Linked DNA regions of Homo sapiens: all the other regions are linked to region 1. Evidence: promoter capture Hi-C in 16 types of primary human blood cells and fetal thymus (Javierre and others, 2016). All regions are on one chromosome and are shown on one strand. The core of a region is centred on a gene start or on the middle of the fragment in contact, and the rest is flanking DNA. Distances in the headings are between cores, read along the strand shown. Region 1 holds the start of SKI (SKI proto-oncogene). Region 2 overlaps RER1 (retention in endoplasmic reticulum sorting receptor 1). Region 3 overlaps MORN1 (MORN repeat containing 1).

Region 1 (3,351 bases), core at 602-3,101:
GGCGAGGACAGCCACCTTCACCCCAACCCCAAGAAAGACCTGGGCCTGAGGCATCCGGGCCGTGGCCCAGCTGGACCTAACTTCCCTGACCTGGGGCAGGCCGCTTTCTCGGGAGCATGAGGCCTGTGCCTTCCTATCTGGGCAATGCCTGTGGGCCTGCGGGCCTTCCCCACACACCAGGCCTGGCCCCCCACCCCACCGCCACAGCCCGCACTCCAGGCTCGTCCTGGGGAACGGGCAGGAGGGCCTTCCTACCAAACTCTCTGGCCCTGCCAGTCGGAACACTCTGAATTTCCCTAAAACAAAGCGAAGACTGGAGACATGGGGCACGGCAGAAGCACAGGTCCCAGCCTTCGGAGACCAGAGCCTGTAGTCCAGAAGGGGCCCCCACCCCAAGCGCATCCTCCCCAGCTCCCAGGCCTGGGGCCACTCACCCGGGGCACCCGCCGCTTGTACTTGTTGCCATAGTCGAATTTCTCCTTCACGTCGTCCAGGCAGCGGCCGAGGCGCGCCTGCTCCTCCTTGCCCGTGTAATCCTGGCTCAGCAGGATGTAGGCCCGCCAGTTGGCCGAGTCGAAGCCCCAGTGGCAGGTCCGGTTCTCCAGGGCCTTGTGCGAGTGCACCACGAACTTGTGCGGCGGGTACATGAGGCGGCAGTCCAGGCACTGGATGCAGGCGGCGCTCGGGCTGCTGTAGAGCTCGGGCACCAGCAGCCCCTTACACTTGCCGAAGCACTCGTGGTACACGCGGACGCTGCGCTCGCTGAGCTCCAGGCCCAGCGCCAGGCTGGCGGCCAGCTCCTTCTTGCAGGGCGGCGGGTAGGCGCCGCCGTAGAGCAGCGCGTTGCACAGGCGCTCGGCGTCCGTCTTGGTGATGAGCCCGCACGAGGGCGCCGAGAAGGGCAGGATGCCCATGACTTTGAGGATCTCCAGCTGGTCGGCCGTGCAGCGCGAGCAGTAGATGTGGAGCTCGTCGCACACCGCGTTGATCTGCTGCAGCGAGAAGTCGCGCAGCACCGAGTTGAGAATCTGCGGCAGACACAGGCGCTTCTCGCCTCCCACCACGAAGCACGAGATGGTCTCGCCTTCCAGTACGGTCTCGCAGCGCTCGGTGGAGCGGTCGGACGGCATGAAGAAGGGCCCGGGCAGCACGGGCGGCGGCGGCTGGATGGCGGGCAGGTGCAGCACGGGCGGCGGCTCGGTGGCTGCGGGCACCGGCGCCGGCACCGCGGCCGCGCCCGCCTCCTTGGCGCTCTCCTTCTTGTAGGCCTCCTGCGCCCAGCGCGCCGAGAAAGCGGCCGGGCCGCCCAGCGAGCTCATGGAGCTCAGGTGGAACTGCTCCAGCGTCTTCTGCAGCCCCGGGTGCGGCTGGAAACAGCCGCGGCCGCCTGCCGCCGCCTCCATGGTGCGCTCCGGCTCCCCCGGCCGCTCCCGCTCCCGCGCGCCCGGGCCCCCCCGGCCCCCGCCGCCGCCCCGCGCGCCCCGGCGGCGCCCGCGGCCCCGACCCCGGCCGCCCCCCGCCGCCGGCTCACGGCCGATCACGGCCGCGGCCTCGCCCGGGGGCGCGAAGGGGAAGGCGGGCGGGGCGAAGGGGTCCCGCCGCTGGAGCCCGCCGCCGCCCGGGCCCGGCGCCACATCCACGCGCCCCGCGCCGCGCCCGCCGCCGCCCGGGCCCCCCGCGCGTCCCCCGCGCGCCCCCCGGGCTCTAGGCGCGGGGCATGCCCCGGCGCGCGCCGCCAACGCCAACGCCAACGCTCGCGGGCCCGGGGCTCGCGGGGGGCGCGCGGGCAGGTGCCGGCGCCGCGAGGCGCGAATCGCCGCGGCGGCCGAGGCCGAGGGGCCCGGGAGGAGCGGGGGCGCGGGCGCGGGGCCCGCCGGGCCGTCCTCGCGCGGCGCGCCGCCGCCGCCCCGCTCCTCCCACCGCGAGGCGCCCGCCCGGCTCGTCCCGGCGGCGCTGGCCGGCCGCGTCGCGCCCGCCGCCGGCCCCCGGCCCGCCCGCCCGCCGGCTCCGCGGCCCGCCCGCCCGGCTTCCGGGGCGGCGGAGGCGCCTCTCGCCCGCGGCCCTCAGAGCGCGGCGGCGGCGCGGGGCTCGGGGCGCTCGGCGCACATCCTCCCGGCGGCTCGCTCCGGCTCGGACTGAGCGCCCGGCGCTGAGCTCACGCCGCCGCCGCGCCGCCCCGCCCCGCGCCGCCCGCTCCGCCCCGCGCCGGCCCCGCCCCCCGCGCTGTTTGTTGCCGTGCGTCCGCCTCAGCCCTAGCGCTGGCCAAGAATGTGACCCGCTCCCCAGCCGGGCTCTTCCAGGAACGCGCGCTCCCCGCCCGGACTCGGCCGCGCTCGGCTCCGCTCGCCCGGGACTCGGCCACGCTCGGACCCGCCCTGCCATGACTCGGCTCCGCTCGGCCGGGACTCGGCTACGCTCGGCCATGCTCGACTCCGCTCGGCCCCGCTCGGCCCCGCCCGCCGAGGGCCGCTGGGCGCGGGCGGAGGCGGAGGCGGCGGTGGCGCCCGGGGCCCCCCTTCCGGCCGAGGCCGCTTCCTGCGCCGCTGGGAAGGCGCCCGTCTCGCCGCCGTCGGGGCCCAGAAACCCACAGGCCCCCGCCACGACCGCAAACCAGCTGGGGGCGGCCGGGGGGCCACGCCACGCACCCGGGGTTCTCCCAGGGTGGGACACCACACAGCGGGGAGGCCCCGGACGCCTCTGGGGTCCCACACACTACCGGGACGCCACACGGTGACCTGGGGTCCCACACACGAGGGGGACAGCGGCCACGCCCAGGGACCCTGCGCCGAGACGGGCACCGCGTCGCGTGACCCTGGCGGCGCAGCCCGGCGGCCCCCGCTGCGCCGTGGCCGGTGGCTCGGTGGCCGAGTGTCCGCGGCTCCCGGCCGCGCCGGCCCCGCCCCGCCCGCCGGCCCCTGGCGGAGTGTCCCTGCTGCGCGGGCCGGGGGCTTCGGGCCTGGGAGGGGCGGCGCCCGGTGCCCCAGACGCAGCCGGTCTGCCAGCCACTCCTGCCAGGTGGCTTATCAGGACTTCGGCCCCGCGGGGCCCGGCGTTCGGGCCGGCGAGACCCCTGACCTCCGCCCCGGGGCCGTGGAGCGCTGAGACGTCTTTCGGGGTCGGATCGGCCGGCCCTCCACGCCTGGCCACGCAGTGGGAGAGACTCAAGCCTTGGCAGGGCGGGGAGCGGGAAGCCCGGGGCCCCGAAGTTGGACAGTCGGCCGGGTGGTCTCCAGGGGAGGCAGCTTCCAGCGAGGCCTGCGGGCGCAGGGACGCAATGGTGTGTTTGGGGAGGGGCAGGGCTCGGTCTGTGCTCGCCTGAGGCGGAGGGACATGCCCCACGGGCCGGGGGTG
Region 2 (3,351 bases), core at 495-2,994, 170 kb before region 1:
ATGCCTCGAGGGCGTGTGCCACATTTCCCTGCTGACGTAAAACACCTGGCCAGCAGGACCGGCTTCCGGCAAAGACCCGCGCAAACCATGTCTTGCTGTTTGACTTACTTAGGAATGAGGATGACCCTGTATTCCTGGGTTAGTCAAGGTCAGCTTGCCAGAGACGGAGGAGGGCGGGGGGGCCGTGACCCTCTAGACTGGGAGGACCACCAGGAGAGGCACTGGGGGCTGCGGCCGGGTGGGCAGATGCCGCCGTGGCTCCATCCATCAGCACCCAGTCCTTTGCTTCACTGTGCTCTGGCCAAGCGCGTGCGACTTCCTGTCACACCTTAGGCCTGAGCGCTTATTAAGAAAACAGTATGAAAAATGACAAACACTCCTGTCCACAGTCTGAGAATCCCAAGTGTCTCAACACGGTACCAGAAGTACCACCTGGGAGCAGCACTGGCTATCTTGGGTCAGGGACACACAAGCTTGAACGTGGCCTCTTAGAGGAGCTCGATGTCAGATATGTAAACACTGGTACAAGAAAATCCAGACACTAAGCATTCACCGTGTCAATTCTGAGACAGGAAACACCGCCCAGAGTGAGGAGCCTGCGCAGCCCGGGGCCCAGGAGGAGAGGCCTTCACTCGCATGTCAGTGTCTCATCTGGGACCACAGCTGTGATGTTCTGCTGTGCAATATGGGTCACCTTTCGAAAAGGCCAAACAAAAGGTGGGCTTTCCTGTGTCCAGCGACTGCCATGTTTTAGGTAAAGACTTTAGTAAAGGTGGAGGTAAAATCACTTGGTAAAACGTTGAGAGTATTTCTTTTCTCGAATCAAAAACGCTGACATGCAAGTGGGTTCCGCCTCTCCCGCAGTGGGGGGCCGAGTGCTGAACCTACAAAGCCAGTCTGCTCCCTGCCAGCTTCGCTGCCCCTCATGGAGGGTTGCATGAGGACAGATTTAAATTAAAAACAAAACACTCTACGTATCAAAGAAATGTGTCAAAATAATCTCAAACAATTAAAATATAATATATATTTATAATTCCGGGCCCTCAAAAGCAATCATGGTAGTTAAGAACCAAGTTTTGAGTCATTAGGATAGAGGCCAACTTTAAACATCTCCAGTGAGATGGAATTAGGAAACTGGCATTAGAACCCCACACAGTTACTTGACAATCACCTTTAAAACGTTAAGTTCTTTCGGACACGCAGGAATCAGGCTAGATCATCCCTCGGGCTCTGTGGAGTGGCTGGCACCACCTGCGGCTGCTGGGGAAGGCGGCTGGCGGGGAGCGGCCCGTTCCTCCCTCGCAGGCCTTGCTCCTGCCTGCCCACCTGGCACAGCGGGGACCGGCCACTCGCCCTTGCTCCCATGGGCTCCACCCGCCTGGCTTCCCGCCTGCAGCTGACTAGAATTCCATCCGTGAGAAACACTTGAACGTCACTGAAAAAGAAATCCATGCGATTTGGTTTAAGCGCCAGTTTCTTCTAGAACCTGATATTTCAGTTACAAATCATTGAAGCTCCTTTTTAAAAAGAAAATTTGACTCCCTCGTAATCAACTACTTTATGTGAAGAAAAAAGGCATTGTTAACAATGGCTCAAAACTGTTCTTGCAACACGTGAGGCAGCCTCAGTCCCGCTTCTAGCTGGCGAAGGCCTTGCCGGCATCCTCCTTGCCTCTGTACCTTCTCTTCCCATGTGTGAACGGGATGTACCGGTACTTAATCATGTGCTGGGGAGAGAAACACAGACTCAGTTACTGCACAACCGCTCTCCAGTCAGTCACACTGTCCCCAAATCTGAGCGGCCAAAGGTCCCCCATCTTTTCTATACATCAGACAAGTGGAATCGGAGCCCCAGTGGCTTCCTGCGCCCACATCAACACAGCAAGACCTTCCACAGCCCACGAGGCCTAGGTTTGAAACCCCATCAATCCCAGTGCTTCGTGAGCCTCCCGTGGAGGAAGGGCAAGGGGGATGTGAGGTGGCCCAGGGCCCTCTCTGCAGCCAACACCCCGGGCACAGAGTGAGGCCCGCAGCACGAAGGCCACACCGTCAAGGGCACAGTCCGCAGTCTCGGCTAACTTCCCCCTAACACCCTCCTCCTCGGGCAGGCTGGCGCGGGGCACTGGGCACCCTAAGAGGAGCCACCGGGACACTGCACTCGCCGGGGCTCTCCCACCCGGCTTCCACAAAGTTTCCACCAAGAGCCCGCCCGCTCCCACAGCTGCGCTCCCCGTTTAGTTAGCCGGCCGTGCTGGGAACGGAGCAGTGTCCTCGTCACACACAAGACGGTGCCACTTAGCTCCACATTCACACCAGGCAGACTCTGCCACCACCCACCACAGCCCAGCACAGCTCCCCCAATGCTGCGGGTAACAGAACAGCGATTGCGGCCGGCGTGGCGGCAGCGCCTCTGCTTTACCTTGATTTGCCTCTTCATCGTGATACAGAAGAGCATGATGAAGTACATCACCAGAATCGGCCAGAACACCGGGACGTTGAAAGCGTCGAAGAAAGTACAGACCATAGCCACAAGGATGCCCTTGGTAGCCGCATGCCTTCAAGTGGGGAGAGAAGGTTAGCGCCGCATCTGCAGCCAGCACCGGGCACCTGCCGGCCGCCTCCAGCCTTGCAGCTGCACCGACCGTCCCCGCAAACAGAAGCATCCCTGTGGAAAGGAGGGGTCTACCCTGGGCACAGCAGCAGCAGGACCCTTTGCATGTAGCTCACAGACATGTACTGCCCTAACCACAGAAACATCCTTCTCTTACTCCCTTGAAAGACACAATTCTTCTTAAAACTACACAAAGTATAAAGCATCAGTACTGAGGCTGGGGGCCCCATGCCTGCTGGCTGGGCCTGCGATCTGGAGAGAAACCCAGGCTGTGTCTTGTGGACCATCCAGGGCCTTCACCTTGTCACTGTGGCATGGCCACCAGTGCTCCCTCCCGTCCCAGCACATGGCCAACAGATGCCACGGCCCTGGAGGCTCAGCTCTCCCTTCCTAGTCCAAGCTTCTGGTGGCTTCCAGGGCCCCTGATCTTTCTGTACCACACTCCATCTGCGGCTGCAAAGTCAAGGCGTGGAGCCCCACGAGCTCAGCAGGCTCCTTCAGTTTACTGATCTAACAGACTTGGGTTCCTCCTGTGCTCCCAGAGTGGGGTATGAGGGACAAGACAAACGGATGCACACGCTCCCGTCCCTCTGACGGCTGCACCACCCACCTCTGCCTACCCGTGCAGACACGGACACCTCGGCTCAAACCCCTCTCAAAAATGACTCCAGGAGAAGGCTAGTCCCTCTGCCAGCCAAAAGGAGCCACAAGGCTGGGGATGGGAGAGAGGAAGGAGGAAGG
Region 3 (3,351 bases), core at 517-3,016, 130 kb before region 1:
CCTTTGAATTTTAAAACTCTGACTGTGTGCCTTGTTCCCCAGATTCTCTGCTCATTTTCCTCAACTGAGGGGTTTGTTGGGCTCTGCCTCAGTTTCCCCTCTCTGCAGCTCATCCTGCACGTTCTTTTAAGGCAGCAGCCAGGGCAATTATAGAGTCCACGCCGTTTGTTTCCTTCTTTCAAGGATCTGTCCTGAGTTGCCTGGTGTCCGGGATCCTGATATCAATTTCATTGCACTTTGTCGGCTTTCTTGGTTGTTGGAACCAGGGGTGTCAATCGATCCCAGTTACTCCATCCCCATACAGATGTCCAGCAGGCTACGCTAGTGTTTTTACATTTGACATCTTTGCTTTCCCAATCGTGTCTCCTTTGCCAGATCTTAGTAAGATGAGAGGCTGGGTTCCTGTTAACCTGTCCTCCATAGGACCTTGACCTCAGAGTCCGCATGACCAGGCCCTGGACCTGTGCCTAGTGCCAGGGGTGCAGGGCGTGATACATCATCCGTGATGATTGGGGGTAGCCCCAGGCTCTGAGGCGACCCCTCCACGGCCACCCCAAGTGGGAGCCTGCCTGGGCCCTGCTTTGTCCGAATGGCCCATGTTTGCTGAAGTCCAGTCATTTCCCACTTGAGAGCCCGTCCCAAAGCTCGGCATCCACTCTGGGGCACCGGACTGGTCTCCTTCCTCTTCTTCTTTTGTTTCCCTTTTTTTTTTTTTGAGACGGAGTCTCTCTCTGTCGCCCTGGCTGGAGTGCAGTGGCATGATCCTGGCTCACTGCAGCCTGCGCCTCCTGGGTTCAAGCGATTCTCCTGCCTCAACCTCCAAGGAGCTGGGATGATTGCAGGTGCTGCCACCACACTTGACTACTTTTTGTATTTTTAGTAGAGACAGGTTTCGCCATGTTGGCCAGGCTGGTCTCAAACTCCTGACCTCAGGAGATCCACCCGCCTCGGCCTCCCAAAGTGCTGGGATGACAGGGGTGAGCCACCACATCTGGCCTCCTTCCTCTTCCTCTTTGCTCCTCTCGGCACAGCCATCTTGCCTCCACCCACGGTGCCCAAGCCACTCCTCCCTGCTATCCAGCACTCCCACGTGGGGTCTTCTGGGTGTGGCTGAACACCCAGCTCCGCCACCTCCACCTGCCCAGCGGGGCCCAGAGCATCTGCACTCAGCAACTCAGAGGGACAGTGGTGTCCACTCCTTGGGCACAGTCCTCTGGGGGCCACCTGCAGCCTAAGGTTCCCAGGAGCAATGGGGTGCAGGATGGAGCAGCTGACTCAGCAGACACTTGGTGGGCACCAGCTGTGTGCCAGGCCCTGTGCTGGGTACCTTAGTGGAGGGGGGAGCCCATCCCCCCGGGTCAAGGTGGGAGATGGGCACGGAGAGCCTGCTATCTGCCAGGGTGATGAGGACCACCATGGAGGCCCCGGGAGCTTGTGAGTGCCAGTGCCACCCCACGCCCCTGACCAGCCCAAGGCCTGGGTGTGCCTGAGGTGAAGCCCTGAGGCTGGTCAGCAAGGAGATGCCTTCCCATAGTGTGCCAGCCCCAGGCTAGGGCAGGGGTGGAGCCAGGGGTCCCCGAGGCCTAGAGCTGGAGATTCAGGATCCAGGACCTGAGGCAAGGGGTACAGGGGTACAGGGGTATTGGGGTGAGTGTGGCCAGCACCAGAGATCCCAGGGCTGGGAAACTTCTGCAGGGCATGGGAGAGGAGCAGAGAGCCCACGGAGGGCAAGCCGGGGTCCTCAGCCCACCAGGGTCACAGCCACTGGCAAATGTGGCCCCGCTGAGTTATAAACACAGCGTCCCAGAAGCCTGCCCCGGGCCCGCGCACCCCGCTTCTGGGTGCCTGTGAGTGTTCACTGCCTGCTCCTCTCTCCTGGAAGGCGAGAGCGGCCGGGTCCTGCAGATCTCAGCGGGCGTCAGATACGTGCAGCTGTCAGCCTACTCTGAGGTCAACTTTTTCAAAGTGGACAGAGACAACCAAGAGACACTCATCCAGACCCCATTGTGAGTACGTGTGACACCAATGAGTTAGTTCTGAGTTTGTTTTGAGTTCATTTAGGTCACATTAATTCCTTGTCCTTTTTTCCCTAGAGACCTGGGCTAAGTCCTGGTTATGACAAATGAAATATTCGATGTCTGTTCTAAGGAAACAGCTCCCTTGAATTTCAGTACCTGACCCTCTGCTGTGGCCCCTCTTGCCTTCTGAGACCGCGAGCCCCTGGTCAGAGCCCCTAGTCTCCCCCAGCGCTCGGCCCCCAAGCCTCTGGGCCTGGGTCCGTGTCTGGAGTGGAGACATCAGGACTCCGGCCCTCGGGTGCTCCTGGGAGGAGGGTCGGCTGCAGAGATGCTCAGGCCTCTCTTGGTGCAGCCAGGAGGGGAGTGGCCCTTACCAGCCAGGCCTAGTTGGGCGCCACTCCCCACGCACACATCACCAGGCCTCCCAGGAACACGCTGGACCAGGCCAGTGTGTGCACAAACCCACACGCAAACAGAGGCCTGAGCTGCAGGACTCCAGGAAGAGGCCTCACTCTAAGCCCCGCAACATGAAAATCCATGCATTTTACCATTCACAGTCAGAACTTAGCAGTGCCCCAGGCGACCAGACCTGAGTGTGACGCCACAGCTCTCACACTCCCTTTTCCCACCGGCCCTTCTCCTGAGTTAAGGACTGTCTGACATTTGGGGTAAACTTGGACCCACTGTGAAGTCAGAACGCACCCGAGAGGTGACGCTGCTGGAGTTGTCATAAATAATAATGGGGGCGGCAGGCAGCTCTTCCTTCAAGCCAAGACCTGCTGTCTTCTCCCTGGCGAGTCTTTTTTCTCTCTGGGCCTCAACTGGCCCCATCCCAGCAGGAGACCTCCCAGAGAGGCTGAGTAGCGCTCCCTGGACTCAGTGTAGGCAAGTCCCAGGGTCCAGGGCGTGGGCCACGCTGTCTGCCTGCACCCTAGTTTGGTGTGGGGTGAGTAGAGCCAAGCTGCCCCCATTCCTTTGCAGTGGGTTCGAATGCATCCCTTATCCTGTGTCCAGCCCCGCAGCTGGGGTGCCGGGGCCCAGAGCTGCCAAGGGAGGGGCAGAAGCCGACGTGCCCCTGCCCAGGGGAGACCTGGAGCTGCATTTGGGTGCCCTCCATGGCCAGGAGGACACCCCTGGTGGCCTGCTTGGTAAGTGGAGCTCACAAACCAGTTGGGGGTGGGTGGGCCCAGGCCCAGCAGTCAAGGTGGGGGTGGGGTCATGGGGACCCAGAACCAGGCCAGAGCAGGAGCAAGCCGCACCCAGGGTCAGTCATCACGCGTGGGTGAAAGGAGGCAGGGCCGGGCAGCCCACATCCCCAGACAAGCAGTCACGG

Evidence for each region. Contacts are between HindIII fragments. The CHiCAGO score rates a contact against its expected background, and 5 or more counts as called.
Region 2: a contact is called between a fragment that was not itself captured here and the fragment with the promoter of SKI in region 1, in 3 of 17 cell types (total CD8 T cells, erythroblasts and M1 macrophages). The highest score is 5.5, in total CD8 T cells.
Region 3: a fragment that was not itself captured here is called in contact with the fragment with the promoter of SKI in region 1 in 3 of 17 cell types (endothelial precursors, erythroblasts and megakaryocytes); the score reaches 6.1 in endothelial precursors.

Annotation. Positions count from the first base shown.
Region 1 is chr1:2,226,819-2,230,169 of GRCh38, reverse strand. It overlaps SKI (SKI proto-oncogene), which reads right to left and starts at 1,851. Exons shown (of 7, transcript NM_003036.4): 1 at 435-1,851. The coding sequence starts at 1,403. RefSeq lists a silencer at 2,021-2,790 and an enhancer at 3,110-3,351. The HindIII fragment of the contact is 10,430 bases long and covers 1-3,351 here.
Region 2 is chr1:2,401,410-2,404,760 of GRCh38, reverse strand. It overlaps RER1 (retention in endoplasmic reticulum sorting receptor 1), which reads right to left. Exons shown (of 7, transcript NM_007033.5): 6 at 2,419-2,554; 7 at 1-1,726. The coding sequence ends at 1,637. PEX10 (peroxisomal biogenesis factor 10) reads left to right here. Exons shown (of 6, transcript NM_002617.4): 6 at 1-787. Among named protein-coding and RNA genes, the nearest start is that of PEX10, 9.5 kb to the left of the region's middle. The HindIII fragment of the contact is 2,537 bases long and covers 476-3,012 here.
Region 3 is chr1:2,357,247-2,360,597 of GRCh38, reverse strand. It overlaps MORN1 (MORN repeat containing 1), which reads left to right. Exons shown (of 14, transcript NM_024848.3): 9 at 1,883-2,006; 10 at 3,000-3,166. Among named protein-coding and RNA genes, the nearest start is that of MORN1, 33 kb to the left of the region's middle. The HindIII fragment of the contact is 4,053 bases long and covers 1-3,351 here.